Linked DNA regions of Homo sapiens: regions 2, 3, 4 and 5 are each linked to region 1. The links are contacts of gene promoters, found by promoter capture Hi-C in blood cells and fetal thymus (Javierre and others, 2016). All regions are on one chromosome and are shown on one strand. The core of a region is centred on a gene start or on the middle of the fragment in contact, and the rest is flanking DNA. Distances in the headings are between cores, read along the strand shown. Region 1 holds the start of PCDH9 (protocadherin 9). Region 2 has its middle 240 kb from the start of LINC01052. Region 3 has its middle 2.7 kb from the start of MIR4704. Region 4 has its middle 200 kb from the start of LINC01052. Region 5 has its middle 80 kb from the start of MIR4704.

Evidence for each region. The method cuts DNA at HindIII sites, captures the fragments that hold promoters and counts their contacts. A CHiCAGO score of 5 or more calls a contact.
Region 2: a contact is called between a fragment that was not itself captured here and the fragment with the promoter of PCDH9 in region 1, in 1 of 17 cell types (M2 macrophages). The highest score is 5.9, in M2 macrophages.
Region 3: a contact is called between a fragment that was not itself captured here and the fragment with the promoter of PCDH9 in region 1, in 1 of 17 cell types (fetal thymus). The highest score is 5.5, in fetal thymus.
Region 4: a contact is called between a fragment that was not itself captured here and the fragment with the promoter of PCDH9 in region 1, in 2 of 17 cell types (M0 macrophages and endothelial precursors). The highest score is 5.8, in M0 macrophages.
Region 5: a contact is called between a fragment that was not itself captured here and the fragment with the promoter of PCDH9 in region 1, in 2 of 17 cell types (total B cells and naive B cells). The highest score is 7.6, in total B cells.

What each region holds. Positions count from the first base shown.
Region 1 is chr13:67,228,853-67,234,203 of GRCh38, forward strand. It overlaps PCDH9 (protocadherin 9), which reads right to left and starts at 1,484. Exons shown (of 5, transcript NM_203487.3): 1 at 928-1,484. RefSeq lists a silencer at 1,755-1,894. The HindIII fragment of the contact is 4,939 bases long and covers 1-3,151 here.
Region 2 is chr13:65,626,050-65,631,171 of GRCh38, forward strand. No RefSeq gene overlaps it. Among named protein-coding and RNA genes, the nearest start is that of LINC01052, 240 kb to the right of the region's middle. The HindIII fragment of the contact is 5,353 bases long and covers 398-5,122 here.
Region 3 is chr13:66,218,609-66,223,363 of GRCh38, forward strand. No RefSeq gene overlaps it. Among named protein-coding and RNA genes, the nearest start is that of MIR4704, 2.7 kb to the left of the region's middle. The HindIII fragment of the contact is 748 bases long and covers 1,511-2,258 here.
Region 4 is chr13:65,667,863-65,673,126 of GRCh38, forward strand. No RefSeq gene overlaps it. Among named protein-coding and RNA genes, the nearest start is that of LINC01052, 200 kb to the right of the region's middle. The HindIII fragment of the contact is 2,199 bases long and covers 2,679-4,877 here.
Region 5 is chr13:66,135,925-66,141,325 of GRCh38, forward strand. No RefSeq gene overlaps it. Among named protein-coding and RNA genes, the nearest start is that of MIR4704, 80 kb to the right of the region's middle. The HindIII fragment of the contact is 3,798 bases long and covers 1-3,565 here.

The DNA of each region.
Region 1 (5,351 bases), core at 234-2,733:
GCATTCTTGTTCTCCTCTTCCCCTCCCCCTGTCTCACCCTCCTCCTAGCCTCTAACCTACCTCCCTCAGTCTTTTCAGGTGCAAGTGAAAAACACTAAGTATTTAGCTACGGTTCCTGCTAATTGCTTTGTCACATGTCAAATGTGTTTTCTTCTCTGCCCCACTGAGTCACCTATCTTTTCTAAAAAGGCTATCTTTTTCTTTCCTCCCAGTTCTTCAACTGCCTTCTAATACAATCTTACTGGGAAACGAGCATCCGGACATGCCGCTGCAGCGGCATCAGAAGCAATAGTCACCGGCCTCTACACATCCTCATTGCCTAAAAGCACAACAACAAGACTTCAGATTTCTTGCCCACAGCTTGCTCTCCTTTCTCCATATTGACAAATTATCCTCATTAGGATTCATAAACACATTAAAACTTTTAAAAATGTATAATAATATAGGATTCATTTTCCTAGAGGTGGAAGAGAGTGCCGAGATATAAGTGAAACGCAGCTAACATTCCCATGTAACATCACAATATTTTCTACTGAACATAAAAGAGAAAAAAAATGCAATTTCTTAATCCTGATCTCTGGTTAGAATATTAGTAACATTTGCCACACATAAATACTGCAACCCAATCATGCAGGTAAAAAGGCTTCTGCTTAGATAACTGCAGTTTAAATGGGTGCAAGGCTCCAGGCAGCTACCTACTTGAGTAGGACTGGTCAGTTCTCAGGCTCTAATCTTATCTGCATTAGGCTGCACAGTAGCTGATGCCCGCGATTAGTTCCGGCAGAGTGATGCAGGTAGGGATGCAGATACAGCCGAGTAGGTGAGCTCTGCCCCAACCGTCTACCCAATTACAAGCATCTTTCGCCTACACTGAGGACACATCTAAACACAGAATTTACAATTGTGCATGCGAAACTTTACACTTACGTTAGTTGCCTCAACCTTTCCCCTTTCCCAGTATGCTGCAGTTAGGAATGATTTGTTCCAACACATAGAAAGCCATGCATCTGGTAGCACCAGTTTGGGGAGAAATCAGAAGCAGCAAAATGTTTCCTCCTTGTAAAATGTGTTGCTTCGGGCTGGCAAATTAGCAACTCCAGAGAACAAATTCACGGATTTGTCGTTAGTCATTCTCTCCACATTTCGTCTCTCTTACCCACTGGGTCTGGGTTCTTCTGGGCATTTAGCACACACAACACATAGTTGCACTTCTTCAGCTCAGGGATATTTTCCACAGCAGCATGCATACCATTTCCATCCGATGCCAATACTGCTTAAGTCTCTAACTTCTTGTAGGAAACGTCAGAGTTGCGGTGATGATGATTCTCTGACAGCTATCCGGGTGACAGTTGCCCGAAAAATTCCTAATCGGTTATCTCTTGCGTGCTTCAGAGACTCTGAGGCGCTCCTTTCCGTCTCGCGTGCTCTCCCTCTCTCCCTTCCCCTCTGCCCCTCTCTCCTTCTCCCTCTCCTCTCTCTGAACTGAATTTCTTGATATAACTCTCAATAAGCCCAGAGGGAGGGCGTGACTGCCCAGGCCCCGCCCCCGGGCTCTGATTGGCCTGCATCTTGCGGCGCGGGCGGCCGCAGCCCGGCGCGAGGGAGGGAGCGCGGAACAAGGCGCTGACTGTCTCCCAGCCTCCCCTCCTCCGCGCCCCCTCGGCAGCAGCGAAAACCCGGAAATCTGATCCTGGCCCCAGGAGAGCCGGGTTCCATGAGGTGCACTGAGCATGCTCTGCAGGGTCCGGCGTGGGAGGGACGCGCTGGCGCTCCCCAGGCCCGGGCGGAAGCGGCGCTCGCAGGCGCTGAAAGCGAGCGACCCTCTGAGCCCGGGTGGTCCGGCGGGCAAGGGCGGCGCGGGAGACCCGCAGGGCGCGGGCGCGGATCCGGGGAACCAGGGCCACCGCTGCGGGCGGATGGGGGTCACCGAGGCGGCTCGTCTCCAGGCGCACACTTCGCACATCTCTTTGCTAAGTGAAGGGGCCAAAATGCACAGATGGGGGAGTCTACCCAGGAACAGAGGCGCGAGACGTATAGCCACCCCTGGGTTGGGAGCACGAGCCAGCAGATCCCCGGAGCGCGTTAAACGGACAACATGCCCGGTGCTGCAAATAGAGGCTTTTGCTGGCAGGGACATTGGAAAGAAGGGCGGAGAGGGAGTACAGCGAAAGGTGGGGACCGCAGAATTTGGAATCTCTGCGGAGACCGGAAAGAAAATTAATCGGAGCACTTCCTACATGCAGAGCCACGGAAACTGCCTTGGAAAGAGAAAGTGGCAGCGTCTGGGTCCCCTCGGTCAGCCCGGGCCAGTCGGCTGCGCGTGCGAAGTCTCCTCTAGCGGAGCGGGACCGGCCGCGGCGGTGGATCGTGGCGGTCCCTGCACTTCTGCTCCAGCCGCGCCTGGAAACCTGAGCCCGGACTCGCGGCTGCTGCAAAACCCGCTTCCAGCCCACCTCACTGCGAACTTTGCTTCCGAGGGGCTGGAAGGAGTCCCAGGCAGCTGTTTCCCAAGCTGTGGAACACTTCCTTTCCCCTAGGCACTTTCTGCTGATTCCAACTTTCTTTCCTGTGATTTTCGTCTTTTCCCGTGCATTTCATTTCTCCGACTCCAGCTCTGTACTAAATCCTCACAAGTTTCTCGTTTTCATACGGGAACTGGATGGAATGACTCCCCAAAAAATACAGCTTTATTTCTCAAATACTGACCCCCAAAGCACTATCTAGTAATATATTTGATTGATCTTTCAAAGTCAGTAAACCACAAAGGTTTGTGTAATGGCTTGTACTTAACGCCTGATACCTGAGTAAAGTTTGAAGCATTAACATAGGAACAGTTCACTTGGAACAAAAATTTATTTTCTGAATGACCTATAAAGGTTGTCAGAGAAGGTCTTAGTACATGATTGAATAACTTGGTCTAACTTACAGGAAGAATAAAGGGCATTTATTTTAAACCTGTGTGTTCCCCATTCTATAATGGGCTGCCTAGGCATTAAAGGCTCTTGACATACTTAAGCTCTTGACTGAGGGCGTGTTGGAGATTACCCCTTGTTTTTGAGTACAATAGTTTTGTTTGCTTTTTTTCTTTTTTAAGTAACATTTGTTTTTAGACGTTTAAATGAAAAGTAAAAAAAAAAAAAAACACCAATCAAGCTTACTAAGCCATATATTGAATAAATAATGACATGATTTAACCAACTAATTTGACATCACAATTTTCCAACATGAAATTGTAAGCTCTTTTTAATTCAAACTTTTCTGAGTTAATATTCACAGTTCAACTGCAGTGTCTAAAAGCCCACTGTAAAATCCATTAATCCCTTATATGTAAAATATAAAATACTTTCCTTGCAGATAATAGACTGATATTTTTTAAATAGCAAAGCAACTTTTATTATAGTAATATTTTGTATGATTAGAATATATAAAATTCAAGAATAGAAAGGACTTACAAGTATCCCAAAGTGAAAAGAAAAATATTGCCTCACAGAATAATGTCAGTGAATGAAAGGATGATTCTTTTATCTTACCACAGTAAACGATCATTTTGCCATTCACAAAATCTACAATTAAAGCTAGTACATTGTTCCAATTGTCACCTATTTTATGCACTGCACTGTTTTTAAATAAATGAACCATCATTGTGATACATTTACAATAAACATAGCAGCACAGCCACTTTCCAGTTCATTTCATAAGCACCACAGTTATATCATATTCTTATTCTAATCATACCGTAGTCATTTCAAAGTCATGTTGTAGTCGCAACACATAGCTTAGCAATAATTATTTAACATCATTATTAAACGGAGTTGTTTCTCTTTGCTAAGGATAGCTTCACGTGTTGGCAGAACCCATTATTACCTCCTGCTCATAAATGAAATCTTAGTTTGAACACAAGATGAAGGTTAGAGAAGAGAAAAAAAAAATCATCACATGATTCAATTAATGACTATGAGACTTCAATTAAAGAAAACCACAGGTCAAAGCCCCAGAATGAAATATGTCTAGATTCTTTTCAAAGGAGATGGAGTTTCAGAGACAAATAGAGCTATGGACTCAGGGCATTATATCCTTTAGGTGTTTATTTGGCATTATCTGAACGACTGAGATTCCTTAATGTTCTCAGTTTTACCTCTTAAATCTAGAATAGTTGAGGCTGGTTTGCCCTATAATAATCCGACTTCTAAACTCTAAAATGAGAACTATTATTAGAGATCTTATTAATATTCCTAGAGGAAAATTAAATATAAAGGGTCATATTCCTAACCCTGTGTTATCACAACTTAAGGTTTCTTCCCAAAACACTATATAAATCATTTTCATAATGAGAGCTGTTCATAATCTACCTCTCCAATATTAATTTTTTAAGTTAGGTCTGTGTAATTATGAATCAGGAAAATATTCTTAATTTCAGTTTTTGTAAGGGAACACCTATTTGTTTTTATGCTGTGTTTTATCATTGTTTTTCCTTAGTGAATTTAATAAAATGTTAGATTTCTAATATCGATCTTCCAGTATATATATTAGACTTTTAATTAGATCTCTTTAGTTAACCCTTATTCATCTTTGTCAAAGCGTATTTTCTACTGCAAGGAATTATGATGTTTTCACCTGTGTTGTACCTGATTAGTAGCATCAGGATACTAATGGGAATTACGCCATTTGAGCTATAGTAAAATTGCTTTAGTGTTTTCTGCTGGTTATATAGGTCATGGGATACTTGTGAAGCTAAGTCACCTTCAGCCAGCTAACTGAAGACTAAAATGCTTTTGCAGATTTAAACACAAACAGATGTGGAGTTAATAAAATTATTTTGTGTTCCACAAGTTTAATATTGTTCTATTTATATATTTAAACAATGATTTCCATGTAATGGCATTTAATAACCTAAATTATTAAGCAGTTCAGTTTGTTAATTGGATTTTCATCTAGGATTTTCTAGTTACCATTCAGCATTTTAAAACTACATTTCACACGGAGATTGTAAAGGCTGTTTCTGTAAGTTACATTTAGAGAAAAGACAGACTGTAATATTCAGAATGATGAAATGACCTCCACAAGGACTTCAAGACTAATATTTTTAACTCTAATATACTAGTTCTATATTCCAATCATAGTTAAAAATAATATAAAAAATACTTTTGTGGCCTGTACTTCTAAGGCTCCTTTAATCCAGGTGTCTTATTATGTCTAACGGACATTAATCAATCAATCACAGGGGCTCTCATGTCACAGCAGGCATTATTGTCCCCATTTCACAAAAAAGACTAGACTATTCTACAGTACTTCTGGGGAAAATTGTGCTAAAAATGCTCAGGGTTATTTATATTATCACTGTTTAGAAAATG
Region 2 (5,122 bases), core at 1,824-4,323, 1.6 Mb before region 1:
GACTTGGGTAGGGACACAGAGCCAAACCTCAAAGTCAATTTTTAGAGTGAAGCATGTATCTTAGCTGGGAGTTTAGCCAATTGAGCAGAGAGACCAGGCTGATGGACTGAAGTTCTAAATTAATGTTTAAAAAGGGATAACAGCACTGTACAGTAGTTAAGAGCACAGAATTGAGAATAAGATGCCCAGGGTTTCAATACCAGCTCTACTGCCTACTTGGGAGAATTTATGTTAAATTATTTAACCTCCTATACCTGACAATGGTAGTATTCCTCCCAAACTCCCTTGGATCTAGATGCTTTTCACTGTTTTTGTTCATTTCATCCCCAGCTGTGTTATTTATTTCAAACTGCCGCACCAAGGATGCCATTCAAAAGATTCCTATTTGCAAGTGTGAAGCTTTTTTGCCACATGTAGATAGTAGGATTTGCCTGGACACTCACAACTGTCTGGGGTATTGTTAATCAATGAGTAATTGGGGCAGGAGGGTGAACGTTTAGCTCATTTTTCTCCAGGACAAAATATAAAGCATAATCTGTACTTCACAGCTTCTCTCTGGGATAAGGCCACACTTAGCTTGAAATTATACCCTCTCTTGGTTTCTTTACCTTTCCCAACCTGTTTTCTCCACTCTCTACTTGTTTCTCCTTTGGGCACTTTCTAGCTAAATCTTTTTGCAACAAACCTCATCTCAGAATCTCCTTCTGGAGAAATTGACTAAAGACATCCAGTTTTCCCATCTTCTAAAATTGGAATATTGTTCCTATTTCAAAGGATATTGTCAAAGTTTAATGGCATATATAACTATAACTAGCACATATTATGTGATAAATGCATATTAGTATATTAATTATAAAATAGTAAAACTAAATGTGTTCCACTTAATAAAACAATAAATTGTTGAATGCCTAGTTTATAGTAAGCAAATCCTGAACATCAAAAAATAAGAAAGCAATTATCTTGTCTTTATTTTTATGCCTATACAGTCTGTCTGGAGAGAGATACTTAAGCCAATACTAAAAATCCAGTGTTGGCAATATGAGTGCATAGAGTGCTAATAATTTTTAAACACAAAAGAATAATAAGGCAGGACATAGTGGTTCACCCCTGTAATCCCTGTGCTTTGGGAGGCCTAGGCTTGAGCATTGCTTGACACCAGGTGTTCAAGACCTTCCTGGGCAACATAGCAAGATTCAATCTCTACCAAAAAATAATAATATTAAAAAATAGCAAGGCTAGTAGTGTGCACCTGTATTCCTAGCTAATTGGGAGGCTGAGGTGGAAGAATCACTGGAGCCCAGGAGTTCAAGACTGTGGTGATCTGTGGTCACACCACTGCACTCCAACCTGGGTGACAAAGCAAGACCCTGTCTCTAACAACAAATAAAATGAAATGAAAAGGGACACTTTGAGTACCTAAATCAGTCCGAGTAGTCAGGGAAGAGATATATTAGAATGCCTAAGTAGTAATTACACAATTTGAAAAGTGGAAAGGGGAGTGGGAGGCTGAAAAAGAAAACAACAAAACAATACATATAACTGTTATGGAAGAGTTTTGCTAGTTTTTTATTGTTATTGTTACTATTATTTGAGTTGGGTACAGGTGTGTTTGTGTTTGTATCTACAAGTGTAAGTCCAAATGTGTGTTGTCATGTATGTGTTTGTCCATTTTAGGATGTGTGTGTGTGTGTGTGTGTTTCTGTATTGTGAGTTTGGGGAAGTAGGTTTGGCATTGAGGCAGAAGGGATAGGCAGAAACTCCACTGGCATTCTATGATATATTCAAGAGTCTATACTTCATCCTGAAGGCACTGTCAAGTCACTGAAGGATTTTGGTAGGGGAATGAAATGTTAGAAAGACAATTCTGGCAGCAGTGTTGAGAATGGAATTGAGGGCAGGGATAGTAAATAGGTTTTCAACTTACATGCCAACTCTGATCAATTGGTAGTGGCTGGCTGGAGCACTTTTTGAGAAGGATTTTGAGGTCTTGTCCCGGCTTAGTGAGAATGAGCACCATGATTGATTATCAATGTTTTCCATTTATTCCCCATGTTCTAATATTTTCTTTATTGAATCTGCCTTCTACAATGCATATTTGTTATAGATATCAGATATAGATCAACTGATATCATCGTAAAAAGCTACGTATGGAAAACTTTTCTTCTCTGAAGGCTTCTAACCTTGAAAATGCAATAAAATTTTTATTGTCTAGGAAAAAGTCTATGGGTTAACACAGACTTTAGCATGTAAACATATTAAAATCATTAATTTGTTTCAGTTTATTTGCAAACACTCTTTGGAAGAAGAGCTCTTGTAATCCATACCTGTTGTAGCATTGGAATAAAAATGAAACCACACACACAAATAAGAAGGAAATTTTAAGATCACTTAAAGATTATGAGAGACTAATATTGTGTTTGTAAATACATTAATTTTGCCAAAACTTTCTTCCTCTTCTACTTCACATAGACTAACTGTCCCTTATATTAATTTTTGTACTTATTGCTTTACTGATTTATATTTAATTGGCTACATGTTGTAAAAGATTATAGTATCAACTTTAAAAAATATTCTCTGGTAGTAGAAAGAGTACAGCATTTGGAGCCAGACAAACTTACTTTTTAATCTTGGCTTTGTCACGTACTAACAGTCAGATCTCAGGCAGGTCTTTCAGTGTGCCTCCTTACTTTATTAATAAAGTTTTCATAAGGACAAAATTTCATTCTCCATTAGGCCAAGTGCATCTTGAGTCAAATTTCCTAAGGCCTACACAAGAAAAAAATCATATGGTGGCTATTAAATATCAGCGTAACAGTAAATTGAGTTTTTACGGAAATACTTTGAACTACATTTATTCCACATGGCTATTATTACATGAATTTTGAGTTGAAACACAGCTTCAAATAATATTACACTACCCAAAATGCACACACATGTGATCAGATGTGAGAGTAAATACGGGAGATTGTTACACTTTTCAATGCCTAATAATCGGTGTTTCAAATGACACCTTCATTAACGGTACTGTTTTAATTGCAAACTTTGTTTGAGTCTATTAAATATAAAATTTTTGGAAATGGAACAAATCACTTTACACAAAATAATGGTTTTTGTACTGCTTCAGATAACTCATACTTTGAAATTGATTGTGGTTGATTTGAAATATGTTCGGTGTTTTTCTACCCCATCAGGTGCTACATTAATAATATCCCAGGGCAGAAGCTGCAAAACCTAAAAAATGGAGCAAAACTTGTCAAGAAAATAGCTACTGGTGGTGAGTGGTGGCTCACACCTGTAATCCTAGCACTTTGGGAGGCGGGTGGATTGTCTGAGCTCAGGAGTTTGAGACCAACCTGGGCAACATGAAGAAATCCTGTCTCTACTAAAATACAAAAAATTAGCCTGATGTGGCAGTGTGCACCTGTAGTCCCAGCTACTCAGGAGGCTGAGGCAGGAGAATTTGCTAGAACCCATGAGGCAGAGGTTGCAATGAGCTGAGATCATGCCACTCCAGCCTGGGTGACAGAGCGAGACTCCGTCTCTAAAAAAAAAGAAAGAAAAAAAGAAAAAAAGAAAAAAAAAGAAAAGAAAATGGCTACTGCAGTAGTCAAACATTTGGAAAAATATTGTTCTAAAAATTAGCATCTTTGATCCAGCAATAAATGTATAGTAATTTTGATAGAAACAAGCAAAGTATGAAACTATTCTTCTAATATTGACACTCAATATATTTTAAAACATTAAACATTTCAAAAAGCGTTCCTTGAAATGTTTAAATATCACATAAAATGGATCACCATTTAATACACCATCAGTGCATCATTGCTCATTTAGATAATGAACAAAACACTAGAGAAATGAGCCATTTTATAAATCTTTGCTATATTTAGAATTAAAATCTGTCTGTTTTGTGGTCTTTAGGAATTTTATTTCACACATTATCATCTTTTTTTCATTTAATAGAAGCATGGGGAAAGAAAATGTACTATCCAGTCATGGTTGAGTTTCTTTATGTTGCACTTCAGTTTTCTGGGCATTCCTAGTAGCTTTTATTTCACAGTTGTTTCTTGTTTAAGTCTCACACAAGATGACAACAGCATGGGGCAAATCATTTTTGGCTTAATTTGAAATGCTGTTTTCAGGGTATTTTAACAGCAGCAATTCTCATATGAGCAAGTAAAGATCATAAATGTTATCCGTATCTCCCCAGATAAACTACAAATAGAAAAACAAACACATGACAGAACTTGTAAAGTGATAAAGAAATTTCGTATGTCTAAGCCTTGCCAGTGTATTTTAAACATGGACAAAATGTATATTTATCAAATTTGACATACTCTAAAAAGAAACCAGGTAAAAACATGAAAAATTAAAATGCTTATATATAAACTCTACAACTGAAATCTAATGTTAATCTATACTATCTAGGTGAAAGATATGGTAGGTGTCAAAAAAAACCATTATAAAGTCAATGACTGTGGGATGCGTGTGTGCCTTGGAGTAGAGATGTTCTTAAAAAGAAACCATCAAGGCCCTCTGGTTAACTTACTGAAAATGTTCTGAAATTTTTTCAACAAAGGTGGATTGGTGTCAACTTATGAGAGTAGAAATTGTGAATTGCAGATTTTGTATTCTTTCTTGCCAGCAAATGACCTCCCATCTGTTGGTTAAAAAAAAAAAAAAAAAGAACCTGTGAGATGGCCAATTCACCTTACTTAAGCACAAACTGTTACTACAATTATTTTCCATCCATTGTTGTTTTATATATTACACCAAATTTATATTGGGTAGAAATAATTTTTTCAAATGTTATTTGAGAGAATAATAAACATCTCATTTATTATGTTTTTAAATGCAAATCCCCATTAACTTCATTCACTTCATGAGTGAGTGAAAACTTTTGGAACTTCTTCATTCCAATTGTAACCTTTGAGACATGCCTGTATTTATTGACATCTGATTTACAGTGAGTATTTGAATACAGTGAAAAATATTTTTGTCTTCTTACCATCTGCAATTAACATTGTTAATAAACTCTGCATTCAGGACTATAGTAAGACTGTATGTATGTGGGCTTTTCTTTGTCATCTCCAGATAAATTCTAACCATCAAATTATATATT
Region 3 (4,755 bases), core at 635-3,134, 1.0 Mb before region 1:
AGGGGAGTTAGACTAACATCTTGAGTGTGGTAGGCTAAATAATGCCTCCCACCCCCCACAAAAGATGCCACTTTCTAATCTCAGAGATCTATGCTATGCTTTACATGGCAAAGGAAACTTTGCAGATATGATTAAGTTAAGGATCTTGAGATGGAGAGATTATCCTGGATAATCCAGGCAGGCTTAATGTAATCACAAAAGGTTCTAATAAGAGAGAGCAGGAGAGTCAGAGTCAGAGAAGGAGATGAGATGACAAAAGCTGAGGTCAGAGTGAGGCCAAGCCCAGGCAAGGCAGCCTCTAGAAGCTGGAAAAGGCAAGGAAACAGATTCTCAACTCAAGCCTCTGGAAGGCTGGAGCCCTTATTTGATTTTTGATCCATTTTGGACTTCTAAATTCAGGAAATGTGAGATATTAAATTTGTGTTGCTTTAAGCCATTTACTTGGTGGTCATTTATCACAGCATCAATAGAAAACAAATACAAGAAGTATCAACTAATTTGTGGGTAGATTTTAAGACTATCACATCTATCATCCTCTTTGATTGGTTGTTCACTAAAAACCCTGTATTATGTGTCTTTCATGTGCTAGCATTGGGTTATATCCCTAAGGATTTAAAGATAAATTAAACATGATTCTTTTCCCCATTATGCTCATAGACAGTATTTATGGAAGGACTTTGTGCAACTCTAAAGGGTAATATAAATGTAATATATTGTGAGTCACTTCCAAAGTTTAATATGCAACCCAACCATTCCTTAATTTACTAAATCGTAAATCAGAATCAATATTTCAACAGATTGGAATTATGCATATATTATGAGTAAATTGCAAACAAATACAGAAGATAATTTGAAAATTAAATGTCAACAGGATTTGCAATAGACATTTACCATGTCTCAAAGTAAGAAAACCTGTTAGAATAAGTATACTGTGGGCAATCTCAGTGTTACAAGGCTGCTAATGAGCCTCTAGTACACTAAGAGACAGCCCCTAGGGATGAAAGGGGAGGATGGCTTATTCTTTCACTGAACTCTTAACTGAGGCAGCTAACAAGGTGCCCAACTGTGATTTAGACACATATCCAGTAGAAACTGGAGATAGAGTGTTAATTTAGTTTGTAAGGGTCACTGAACTAATTCCATTAGGTGACAACTTATGGTCACTACTGATAGGAACAAGAATACAAACCCGAAGCCAAAAAAGAGGGAGAAGAATTTCTTGAACAATCTCACTTACCAGGAAAAGCAATGAGAAAAGAAGCAGTCACTCAACTGAGATGCCTATTTTTGTTATGATATTTAGGTCCTGGAACACCTTTCCACACATGACAGTCACAAACAAAAATATGTAGTGTGACTAGAATATATAAACAAGGTCATGAAAATAAAGTTGATATCCACTAAGCCTTTTTTTAGAGAGCTACATCCACTTCAATCCTTGAAGAAAGTTGTCTGTTCAAAGGATAACAACTCGCAGGGTTAGATGTTAAGAAAGGGGAGTTATCAAGGAAGCTTACAGAAGGGATATTCAGTGGTCTGTCTTGGGTACTGGTGGGCTCTCTTTCCATAGCACAGCTGCCGGCAGCTGGCCAGCACCTCAGGCAGGCAGCTGGTAGGGGAAGAGTGGCCTCTGCCAGCTGGCACTAAAAAATTAAAATTAAAATTAAGGGAAAAAAAAACCCACCCTGAGGCACAGATGCATAACAATCAAGCATTCAGTTTCTGGTGTTCTCCCTTATTCTTCAGTCCTTAGGGAAGCCCAGCAGTGAGGTAGCTCCTCTCTCCCCAACCCAAGGTCCCCAGGCTGCTTTTCTCTGGTTTAGATTCCCTTTTTGGAGGTTTCTCTGTGTTCATGCATCCAAAACACAGTTCTTGAATCATAGCATGTGCCAAGCAATGTGCTAAGGGCTGAGGATGGAAATATAGAAATGAATTACATTTCCTTACTTCCATCAAGGTGCAAATTAAAAGGGCTATAGCTGATTTTTAAATGCCCATAAATAACGACAGAAAGTTGGATGACCATAGTGCTTACGAAACATAGAAGAGAGCCCACAGTGGATGAAGCAAGACAAGTATCACATCAAAAAAGAATAAGAATTAAGGCTTTCTCAGCTGAACAAATGGGAATAGCCTCTTTAAAAGGAATGAACATGAGGAAATAATGGAGGCATAAAATGGAAATTGAATTTTAAAATGTTACTGTACTGTTAGAGTACAGTCTGAGCTGCTACAACAAAAAGACCAAAAACTATAGAAGCTTTGAAATGTCATATATCTCTCTTTGATGGTATGTTTCAGCCAGATATGGCTCATAGGACAGCCCTGTCATCCTCAGTATGCAGTTTCTAGCTTCTGGATTACAGAAGTTGCTTGAGCTCTTGCAATCATTCCTATATCTCAGTTGGGGAGGAAAGGGCAAAATCCCCTCTTAAAAGAGCTACATAAAAGTATTATCTCCACTCACATTATCTCCACTCACAGAGAGCTTCAAATGAAGCTGGGGAATGCAGTAATTTGCCGAGTAGTCTTGTGCCAATCTAAAACTTAGGAATTCAATTAAAAACCAAAAGGGATAATTAACATTGGTAGAAAGCCACCCTCAGTTAGGAATAAAAAGTAAATCTATGTAAACATAGTTCTCATTCTTCGTGCATAATGAGTTTTATAATTTTCTCTGTAAATTATTTCATTCAAGATTTACATTCCCTGGGCTATTACCAGGACTGAAATATGAATCATTTAATGAACTATATATATCAGAGATAAGTTTCGAACAAGACATTGTGGGAAGTATTGTGGTGATAAAAAAATATGCTTAGGTGGACTCTAATAAAAATGGAATTTTAAAATGACAAAATATTATCATGGAAAATGAAGAGATGAATACACATTATTAGAGCCAGTAGTGTTGTAAGTTGGTCATCAACCTTCTTGACTGATTCATGGTACTCACTATAAAATAGACCAAATAGTCATAAAACTTTATTCTGTCAAGTCAAGAAACCGCAACTAAAAATAATTTTGTTCAACCTCCATTTTATCCTATCTCTCAATCTAGCCATCAGATTTTGATCTATGTAAGCCTCAAGGTAATACATTATTGCTCCTAGAGTCACGGTATATTCCATATAGTCACATTTCATGCATAATGAAGATGGCAGTGAACTACAAAGGTTTTTATCAACTCAAACAGGAATACTAATGTTGTCTAAGGGCAATTTATGGTATGTATTTTAAAAGAGTAAAAAAAAAAAAGTAGTTTTTAGGTCAATTCATATGTAGGGAAAAATTATATGACTTGGAGACATTTTGAAAAGACAAAATCTTTACCTTAATGGATTTTAAGATTCCTCTCTATTTCATAAAATTTATTTTTCTTCAATATACATATATATGAAAGAACGTATTGACAATTTAAAACTCACAAAACAAAGGTTTTAGTATAGATATTTTCTTTTTAAGTATTTGATTGCCTATTTTATGCAAGGCATTTTGCTAGATATTAGAATACAATATTAGATAAGTCATTTATCTTAATTTGGATAATTTCGCTGTAAGGATAAAACAGTCATCAAAAATAGATCAAATTAAAATAGTATGTTGTTAGAGATATTAAGAAGCAATCCACACTCATTTAAGAACTAAATGTTCACAAGGTTGGGCTTACTCAAGACCAAGTTGTGAAAGGTTTCTAGACTCAAGGAAGCCCTGGGGACCTTAGCAATATGTGGCGACTTTCACTCTAGTGTCCTCCCCTTAAGTACGACTCAGATAATTAACAGAAGGCTGGGTTGTGTTCTGGGTTTTGTTTTGTATTTTGGTTGTCATTCTATTTTCCTTTTCTGTTTCTCTACCAACTGACAAATTCATTCTAATATTCTTAGTTAAAATTGCCAAGAACAGGAATCCGATTCATGCAAATTCTTTCCCAGTCCCTGCTACAAATCATAGTCCCTGTCTTTAGTTATGTAGGTAGGTGAGTTCACAAAGTATAGAATCTCATCATTTATAGCAGATAGGCCCTGGGGAATTAAAGTCAAGGTTTTGATATCATGAAGTATACCTGCAAGCTGTTTTAAATTGTAAATTGACAAAATTCTTCCTGAGCAAACATTACCATTATCATTGACATGTTTTATAAAGCACTTTAACATAAACTATCTGAGGTATATTCACCTAAAAATCCTATAATGTAAGCAGAAGTGATCCTCAGAATAGTTAGTAACTTGTCTAGCATTTACATGAACCAATCAGAATGAATGCCCAAAATTTCAAATTGAATTGTTGTCACAAGCAGTCAGCATAATGAGCCATCACCTGCTGCCTGAACTGCAGCCCTGGATCCAAAGTCAGCCTTTATTTTATACCCATTTTATGGATTAAAAGAAAATAAAGTTCATGAGTGGTTATATGACATGTTTTTGTTTTCTGTCTCAAAAACCCTAGCAGTTTGCACACTTTGCTTCCATCTGTACCCTGTTACCTATTGTGACATATCACATGCTCGAAGGCCACATCTGGGACTTTCGTAAGTAGCAACCGTTTTTCTTTTCTGTGGTTTCTAACATGCTATATAAGATTTTATCTCTATTGTATTTCCCGTAACACTGACCTTCCATTGGCTTCTTTCTCTTTTCTACAGAGTATATTTTTGGAGGGCAAATCTGTTAATGTGTATTCTTTATGCTCTGTACATCCTATGTAAGATCATCAGTAAATATCTATTTACATTTTTTTGAAGGGCAGAGAAAT
Region 4 (5,264 bases), core at 2,528-5,027, 1.6 Mb before region 1:
CTAAAGTGTTGAGAGTTTTTATTAAGAAATATCATTGACCTTTTTAAAATTTTCAATATCAATTGAAATGATCATGTGTTTTTTGATCTTTCATTTTGTTATTGTGACATATTGCATTTATTGATTTACATATTTTAAGCCAGACTTGCATGCCAGAGACAAATCCCACTTGGTCATAATGTGTAATCTTTTCGATGTGTTATTGGAATATGTTTGCTAATCCTTTTTATTGGGAATGTTTGTATTGACGCTCATCCGAGAAATTGGGCTGTAGTTTATTTTCTTGTGATGTTTTTGCCTGGCTTTGGTATCAAGGTGATGTTCACCTCATAAAATATGTTTGCAAGTATTTCCTCCACATCTATTTTTTGGAAGAGTATAAGAAATACGGGTATTAGTTCTTTGAATTTTGTAGAATTACACTGTAAAGCCACCTGGTGCTGAGTTTTCTTTTTGGGGTAAGTTTTTGATTAATTCTTCAATTTATTTCTTTGTATTTGTCTGTTCACTCTTTCTATTTCTCCCTGATTTACTCTTAGTAGATTACATCCTGTTGGAATTTATCCACTTCCTCTAGATTATCCAATTTGTTGGCAAGTAATTATTCATAATATTCCCTTAATATTATCTCATTTCTGAGGTGTCTGTTTTAATTTCTTCATGTTTATTTTTCATTTATTGGAGTCTTTTTTCTTTTTGTAGACTACCTAAAACTTTGTCAATTTTGTTTATTAAAAAAACCTGTTTTATGGATTACTTCTGTAGTTTTTCTGTTCTCCATTTGATTTATTTTTGTTCTGATTTGTAATTATTTTCTTCTGTCTGCTACTTTTGGGTTTAGTTTGCTTTTCTTTTGTTCATTCCTTAAGAAATAATGTTAGACTATATATTTGGGGACTTCTTTTCTAATGTATGCATTTATTCCTATAAAATTCCTTCTTACAATTGCATATGCTGCATTTCATAGGTTATAGTATGTTTTGTTTCCATTGTTATTTGTCTCAAGTTATTTTTAATTCCCCTTTTGATTTCTTCTTTGATCCATTGGTTGTTTAGGAGAATGACATTTAATTTTCACAAATTCCATATTTGTGAATTTTCTAAAATCACAAATTCCATATTTGTGAATTTTCTAAAATCCTTCTATTATTGATTTCTAGTTTCATAACATTGTTGTATGAGATGATATGGATATGATTTCAATCTTACTTGTTTTGTGGACTAAGATATGATCTATCCTGGAGAATGTTCCATGTGCACTGACAAAAAAAGGTATATTCTGTTGTTGTTGGATGAAAAGTTCTACAAATGTTGTTAGGTCCATTTGGCCAAAAGTGTAATTCAAGTCCAGTATTTCATGTCCATTAATATTTGCTTTATATATTTAGGTGCTCCAACATTTAGTGTATATACATAAATATATACACACTATATATATACACACACTATATATATACACTATATATATACAGTAATTATATTATCCTGATTAAAGGACCCCTTGATAATTAAATAATAACCGACTCTGTTGCCTGTGATAATTTTTGACTTGAAGTCTGTTTTATCAGATATAGGGATAGCCATCACTCCTCTCTTTTTGTTATCTTTTGCAGGAAATATTTTCTTTCACCCTGTCACTTTCAACCTATATGTGTCCTTAAAGATTTCTAGTGGGTGTCATATAGGTGAGTCTATTTTTTTAATCCATTCAGTCACTTTATGTCTTTTGATTAGAAAATTTAGTCCATTGAGAGTTAAGGTTATTATTTATAAGTCAGGACTTAATATTTTGTTGTTTGTTTTCTCATTCTTTTGTAGTTCCGTTGTTCCCTTTTATCTCTGTTGTCTACTTTCATGATTTAATAGGATTCTGTAGTGTTAAACTTTTATTTCTATCATCCATAAATTTTCTGTAGTTTTTTGTTTTGTGTTTTTCACGAGGCTTACATAAAATATCTTATTATCTATTCTAAACTGATAACTTTTATTGCATTAAAAACTCTAGAATGTTATCCTCCCCACAAGTTAAGTTTTTGATACCACAATTTACATATTTTTATATTGCATATCTTTATCTTTGACAATTTTTATTTTTCCATCACAATAGAGATATGTATGATTTACCACACCAGCATTACAGTATTAGAGTATTCTGGACTTGACTACTTACCTCTAGCAGTGAAGTTTATATTTTCATATGTATTCATGATAGTAATGATTGTCTTTCTGTTTCCACTTGAATAACTTCTTTAAGCATTTCTTGTAAGGAGAGTCTAGTGGTAATGAGTTCTCTCAGCTTTTACTTGACTGCCAAAGACTTCATTTCTACTTCATTTCTGAAGCACAGATTTGCTTGGTATAATATTCTAGGTTGGAAGGTTTTTTTTTTTTCCTTTCAGTGCTTTGAATATATAATTCCATTCTCTCCTGGCCTACAAGACTTCTACTGAGAAATCTTCGGATAGTCCCGTGGATATTTCCTTATATGTTACTTGATACTTTTCTTATGCTGTTTTTAAAACTCTCCCATTGTTTTTTACTTTTGATATTTGATTATAACATGCCTCAAAGAGGACATCTTTGCTTCAAATCTATTCGAGAATCTTTGAGTTTCCCCGATCCGGATGTCCGTATCTCTCACAAGACTTGGGAAGTTTTCAGGATTTATTTTATTAATAAGCTTCTGTCTCTTCTTCTTTCTTTCAAAAACATTCACAATAAGGATACCTATTCACTTAATGGTGTCACATAAGTCCTATAGGCTGGATTAATTATTTTTCTTTTCTTTTTTTTAATTTTTTAACTGCATCTCTAATGGAATATACGTCATTTCAATTGACCTATATTCGAGTTCATAAATTATTCTTTTTGCTTAATCTAGTCTGCTGTTGAAGTGGTCAGTTGTATTTTCCATTTCATTGATTGAATTCTTTAGCTCCAACATTTCTATTTGAGAATTATTTATGTAATCTCTTTGTTGAATTTCTCATTTAAATTACAATTTGTTTTCCTGATTTTATTGTATTTTCTATTTTTATTCTTTTGCCTAGGTTTTCTTCCAGAGTTTTTATGATTTTAGGTCTTACATTTAAGTCTTTAATCCATCATGAGTTAATTTTTGTATAAGGTATAAGGGAGGGATCCAGTTTCAGCTTTCTACATATGGCTAGCCAGTTTTCCCAGCACCATTTATTAAATAGGGAATCCTTTCCCCATTGCTTGTTTTTGTCAGGTTTGTCAAAGATCAGATGGTTGGAGATGTGTGATGTTATTTCTGAGGCCTCTGTTCTGTTCCATTGGTCTGTATGTCTATTTTGGTATCAGTACCATGATGTTTTGGTTACTGTAGCCTTGTAGTATACCTTGAAGTCAGGTAGCGTTAATGACTCCAACTTTGTTCTTTTTGCTTAGGATTGTTTTGGCTATGTGGGCTATTTTTTGGTTCCATATGAATTTCAAAGTAGTTTTTTCCAATTCTGTGAATAAAGTCACTGGTAGCTTGATGGGGATGGCATTGAATCTATAAATTACCTTGGGCAGTATGACCACTTTCACGATATTGAGTCTTCCTATCCATGAGCATGGAATGCTCTTCCATTTGTTTGTGTCCTCTTTTATTTCTTGGAGCAGTGGTTTGTAGTTCTCTTCGAAGTGGTACTTCCATCCCTTGTAAGTTGGATTCCTAGGTATTTTATTCTCTTTGTAGCAATTGTGAATGGGAGTTCACTCATGATTTGGCTCTCTGTTTGTCTGTTATTGGTGTATAGGAATGCTTGTGATTTTTGCACATTGATTTTGTTTCCTGAGACTTTGCTGAAGTTGCTTATCAGCTTAAGGAAATTTTGGGCTGAGACAATGGGGTTTTCAAAATATACAATCATGTCATCTGCAAACAGGGACAATTTGACTTTCTCCTTTCCTAATTGAATACCCTTATTTCTTTCTCTTGCCTGATCGTCCTGGCCAGAACTTCCAACACTATGTTAAATAGGAGTGGTGAAAGAGGGCATCCTTGTCTTGTGCCACTTTTCAAAGGGAATGCTTCCAGTTTTTCCTCATTCAGTATGATATTGGCTGTGGGTTTGTCATAAATAGCTCTTATTATTTTGAGATACATCCCATCAATACCAAATTTATTGAGAGTATTTAGCATGAAGGGCTGTTGAATTTTGTCGAAGTCTTTTCTTGCATCTATTGAGATAATCATGTGGTTTTTGTCTTTGGTCTGTTTATGTGATGGAATATGTTTACTGATTTGTGTATGTTGAACCAGCATTGCATCCCAGGGAAGAAGCCCACTTGATTGTGGTGGATAATCTTTTTGATGTGCTGCCAGATTCGGTTTGCCAGTATTTTATTGAGGAGTTTCGCATCAATGTTCATCAGGGATATTGGTCTAAAATTTTCTTTTTTTGTTGTGTCTCTGCCAGGCTTCGGTGTGAGGATGATGCTGGTCTCATAAAATGAGTGAGGGAGGATTCCCTCTTTTTCTATTGATTGGAATAGTTTCAGAGGGAATGGTACCAGCTCCTCTTTGTACCTCTGGTAGAATTCAGCTGTGAAACCATCTGGTCCTGGACTTTTTTTGGTTGGTAGTCTATTAATTATTGACTCAATTTCATTGGTCTATTCAGAGACAAAACTTCCTACTGGTTTAGTCTTTGGAGGGTGTATGTATTCAAGAATTTATCCATTTCTTCTAGATTTTCAACTTTATTTGCGTAGAGGTGTTTAAAGTATTCTCTGCTGATAGTTTGCATTTCTGTGGGATCACTGTTGATATCCCCTTTATCATTTCCTATTGTGCCCATTTGATTCTTCTCCCTTTTCTTGTTAGTCTTGCTTGTGGTCTATTTTGTTGATCTTTTCAAAAAACAAGCTTCTGGATTTATTGATCTTTTGAAGGGTTTTTTGTGTCTCTATCTCCTTCAGTTCTGCTCTGATCTTAGGTATTTCCTGCCTTCTGCTAGCTTTTGAATTTGTTTGCTCTTGATTCTCTGGTTCTTTTAATTATGATGTTAGGGTGTCGATTTTAGATCTTTCCTGCTTTCTCTTGTGGCCATTTAGTGCTATATATTTCCCTCTACACACTGCTTTAAATGTGTCCCAGAGATTCTGGTACGTAGTGTCTTTGTTCTCATTGGTTTCAAAGAACATCTTTATTTTTGCCTTCATTTTGTTATTTACCCAGTAGTCATTCAGGAGCACGTTGTTCAGTTTCCATGTAGTTGTGAGGTTTGGAATGAGTTTCTTAATCCTGAGTT
Region 5 (5,401 bases), core at 417-2,916, 1.1 Mb before region 1:
TCTCTGGCTTTTTTAACTATCAACTTGTTGGCTTGTCACAAGCCGGAGAGCTGTTGTGCAAGTGTGAAGAGCCCAGGAAGAAGCAAAGGCCAAGAGAACACTTGCCCCAGTCCATTTCTGTTTACTTGTTCCAGTCCCCACATTTCTTTTCCTTTGTTTTTTGCTTCTAAGCACCCCAGAATCATTGGTGTCCCTCTATATTATAACTTCTTCCCCTAAATACTGAAATACTCACACAGCATTTATTGCATGTTACTTAATCAACAAATACATTTGAAATAGCATAGATATTGTTAATACAAGTTATAATATATTTTAAAGAGCTAGTAGAGTGTGGTCATAATTTTAGGACATGGTTAGTTACATATGACATGATCTTTAACAATAGGTCTTATTTATAACTTTAAGGGAAATTATAGTGAGAGAAATATGAGACATATTCTCTTGTTTGTAACTTCATTGCCATCAAATGTTGACTTCTATACTAATGCATATGTAGGAGGTATGTATCTTGTGACAAGGTTTTACTACAACATGTCTTTTGTTACATTATTTAGTGTAAACTTGTCTCTAGTTAATAATTTTTTCCCATGTAAATGCACACTCATCTTCATGTTGCCCTTTCATCCAGTCTCATTATCATTTTTACATTGCTAAGACTTCAAATATAAAGTTACAGGTGGATAGCTATCTGTTGCCATGTAGTGAATCACCGCAAACTTAAAGACTTCATACAACATATATTTGTTATCTCATATTTCTGTGGTCAGGAGTCCAGGTATGACTTACCTGACTGGTTAGGGTCTCAAAAGGCTATAATCAAGGTATTTGACAGGCTGTGTTTTCATCTGATGGCTTGACTGAGGATGATTCCATATCCAAATTTTCTCACAGTGTTGGTAGAATTTATTTCCTTGTGGCCATTCAGCTGAGGGCCTGCCTTCTTGCTGGCTGTTGGTAAGAGGTCATCCTCAATCAATTCTGAGCAGCTGTCTATAATTTTTAGAGGCAATGTCACAAGTGATTGAAGTAGAAAACTATCCTTTCACTGACTCTAGTTACTAGCAATGATGTATCTGATAGAAATTTCTAGCTGAAGAGCAAGAAAAAGCAGATGTTAAGAAAGTATCATCTATTATATACTCTGACAGTTAAAAATATTTTCAATTCTTTTGTGTTAGTCCACAAGACAGCTGAAAAAAAGGAAGGTGGAAAACACATACATGTAACCCAAAGGATGTCAGCAATTAGAGAACTTTGCTTCTGTGTCACAGATGGCAGATAAATGTGACATCAATACAAATTTTTGACATATTTTAGCTATGTAAATACCTATTTTTTAAAAAACAGGACAGAGATTACTATTTAATAATTTTGATTCCTGTATGCCAAATTAAGATTTAAGGTCTAAGTTGACCACACAGGTCAATCTTTTTCACTCCCATTTTTCACTGCTGAAATGAACAGTGTAGAACTGAAAATGAAAGAAGCAAAAGAACTGTGTTTATGAGCTTACAATTTTTGAGGAGAGTGCTTTTAAGAGACTTCAGAATGAAGTCACTGAGCAATATTACAACCATATTTTGAAAACCCTTAAAATGAACTGTTTGCAATGCTCTCATAAATGCTCTCTTCTGAGCTCAACCATTTCTGTTTTCTTTCTGCCCATGTGCTTGAATGTTGCCCTAGAGGCTAAGGAATATCAGTCATAAGCACTAGAGTCAGACTGTGGCCAGAGTTGATACCAATGTACAAATCTATCTTTCTCCATTTGAACAGCCTGCTAAGTTCTGCATGCAGCCTCTGGCTTTGAATGGTTTTTTAACTCTTCTGTAATGTATACTCTGAAAATATAAGGGCTATATTATTTTTTATCTCTCTACCCACTGGCCTTTTTTCCCTTCTATTCTCTCATTTGAATGTCCAGTTTAGATCTAATGAATCTGATGATTACCTCAAATTCCCTAACGTGAGTGTCTCCAACAATATCATGGTTCCAAGACATCTTTGTCTTCTTCTTCAATTACACAAATGACGTATTACGAAATAGAGCAAGAGAGCAAACAATAGCAATTTAATTTTAGAATAAAAGTATTGTCCAGGTTTCTCTACAGCCTGTGTTTAATCAATAACTTTAAAATAAAATAGGAGTAATAGGAGAATAAAGGCATATGATAAAGCACAAATTTCGGGTACAGAATAAAGTTCTCTCAAAGCCTTTGGCTCGGAAAAAAAAAGATAAGAATAATATCAATGATGTTGCTGACATTTTCTCTACTTTCCCTCACTGTCCACTGTTGTCTCTTCACCCTTCTAGACTGTCTTAACTATTTCAGAGGATTAAACCTAGCTGTTATACAAAAGCACATCCAGCAGACTTGGTTTTTAACCGAAAACTAAAATTGGGCAATTTTGCTACTTATGTCCACCCAAGTGTTAAATGATGTATCAGCAAAATAACCATTTGTAAACTCCCCCTTCTGTAAATGAACATTTAGAAATGCCGTGTCAAAGACAGTTCAGTTCTACTTTTTAAAAGGGCATATCCTGTTCATAAACATAGACGCCTATTCTTACTCATATCAGAATACAGACCATTACCACTGAATTGGAGCTACAGCCACACTCATAAAATAAAACTAGTGATAGTTTCTCTACTAAGAAACCAACCACACGTATAAATTCATACACATTATGTGGTTCTGGTGTCTGCCATCTGCAGCACATAAGCAAATTCCCCTAATTACTGACATCTCTCCACGAAGGCCCATGTTCTCTATGTGTGTTTTCCACTTCCCTTTTCATCAGCTCCCTTGTGGACCAAAAGCACCACTTCTGCCAGGTGAGCTTAACAGATGTCATCTTCTGATCTTGCCAGTAAAAGGTCTGTTGCTTTGTTTTTAGTTGGGATTATTTCTTGTTAGATTGTACAATGATTGTGCTTTTCAAACTGAGCCACCAGCTTGTAGCCCATGTTTCAGCATACGATCTTTATCAGAATTAGAAATTATAGTCTCAGAACACCTATGGCACACCCATAAGAGGTATATAAAGCATGCCAAAAAAAACCCCATGAAAACAGTGATGAATGAAGAATATGATGGGGCCAGATACCAAGAAATGAGAGCAAGCAGTACTCACACCTAGTGTGTGTGCAAGAGGTAACACCTAGGGATAACTCCCGGGTCAAGGCTAACAGGCATGAGGAAGAAAGCAAGGTATGTAAACTTGGAAGATGACAAAACATTTTCATAGAATATGTTTCTTTCCCGCAATTTTTCTTTGAAAATTCCAGGTTCTGCCCCTGTATGTTAGCCTTTTTTTAAAAAAACAAACAAACAAACAAAAATCCTAGTATCTGAGGCCACTGTTTCTGTCAATGAAGACTATGTTCCACTATGTACTTCCTCAAATTAACCCAATTCTTTGATGTCTACCTATATTTTTACTGGCATCTCCTTCCTGTAATAAGCATTGATTTCCTTCATTTCTACATTACCATCGTGCTTATGATCTTTACCTTACAAAGCTAAACTTTACTCAGTCATTCCACAAATATTTACAAAGCTTACAGCATGTCCCAGTTGTCCTTGACATATGTTAGCTTTTTTCTTCTACTTAGATATAAACACTTCAAGAATAGGTATTTTGCGAGATAAACGTGTTTTCATCTCTCCTGTATTCTTTAGTATAGTATAGGACACAGAGTTGAAATTTAGTATGCACTTTTTAAGAAAAAGATATGGTGGTATTACATGTAGAAAAACAGATGTAAGTATTACAATTAAAACCAAATATGGACTAAGCATATTCGCTTTATATATTGAAAGTCAGTAGGTAAAATCAGCAACAAATTTGCTGGTGAAATTGCAAATTAGGTCATGAACTGGGGCTATAATGTTTGGTATGCTAAAAAGGGAACAGATTTAAAAATCTGTCAGAGTAGAATGGTTAGGATCATAACTGTTTGGAAACAAGAAGTGAAATTAAGATAAGCTTTTATAGCATGGCTTCTAGGCTGAGGGATGGATGACTGAACAAATGGTAGTATCATGAATCAAAAGAATGGTTTTTGTTGTTGTTTTTTGTTTGTTTTTGGTTATCCTCTATCTCCCACACTAGGCTTACTTTCAGCTTCTGTACCTAAGTCTGATTTCCTGCCAATTTTACTATCCAAGATGGATAAACTTTTTAGTTCACAAATTTTTTTTGACAAATAACAAAACAGAAACCAAATGAGCACAAAGATGGATAAGACCCAGCTGTTAATTTAGTTAGGCAGATAGTATACAAGCTGGGGAAACTGACATCTGAATTGAGTGTTAAAGAACACACAGGATTGGACTGAATAGTGGATATTCTAAAAGCTAAAGGAAACTGCCTATTCAAGCCCTTGGAGCTCAGAAAGGACACATTACCTTGAGGGAAATTCCCGGATTTCAGCCTTGGATTGCTTTTCCATACCTGTTTATGTTTGTTTGTTTTTTGACAGAATCTCACTCTGTCACCCAGGCTGGAGTGCAGTAGCGCTATCTCAGCTCACTGCAACCTCTGCCTCCTGGGTTCAAGCGATTCTCCTGCCTCAGCCCCATGAGTAGCTGGGATTACAGGTATGCACCACCACCCCCGGCTAGTTTTTGTATTTTTAGTAGCAACGGAGTTTCACCATGTTGACCAGGATAGTCTTTAACTCCTGACCTCAGGTGATCTGCCCACCTTGGCCTCCCAAAGTGTTGATATTACAGGGGTGAGCCACCACTCCTGATGCTTTTCCATCCTTCTGTAAGCAACTGGACCATGCTCAGCTATGTCTTAGGGTGTAGTGTGCTTTATATATAATAATAAATGTAAGGAATACTAAATTTAGAAAAAAAAATCAACTCAAGGTATCAAACTTTCAAATGTCAAGAAGATAAGACCATGATTTGGGTTTGAGTTTTGGTTTCATTTCTCCCTTTTACACTGTGTGTAGATAAAATCATAATAATGACACATAACTTTTACTTTTTCTTTTTTTTTTGAGACAGCATCTTGCTCTGTCGCCCATGCTGGAATGCAGTGGAGCCATCTCTGCTCACTGCAACCTCTGCTCCCTGGGTTCAAGCAATTCTGCTTCAGTTTCCGGAGTAGCTGGGATTAGAGGTATGCACCACCATGTCTGACTAATTTTTTGTATTTTAGTAGAGACAGGGTTTCACTGTGTTGCCCAGGCTGGTTCCGAACTCCTAAGCTCAGGCAATCCAACCACCTCATCCTCCCAAAGTGCTAGGATTACAGGCGTGAGCCACTGCGCCCATCAAACTTTTACTTTTGCAAAGTCTCTTTAGAAAATATGCCATCAACACAGGTCAAAACAGTTTGATAAAGATTACTTAGTGTTTTAAAAACTACAGCATACTAT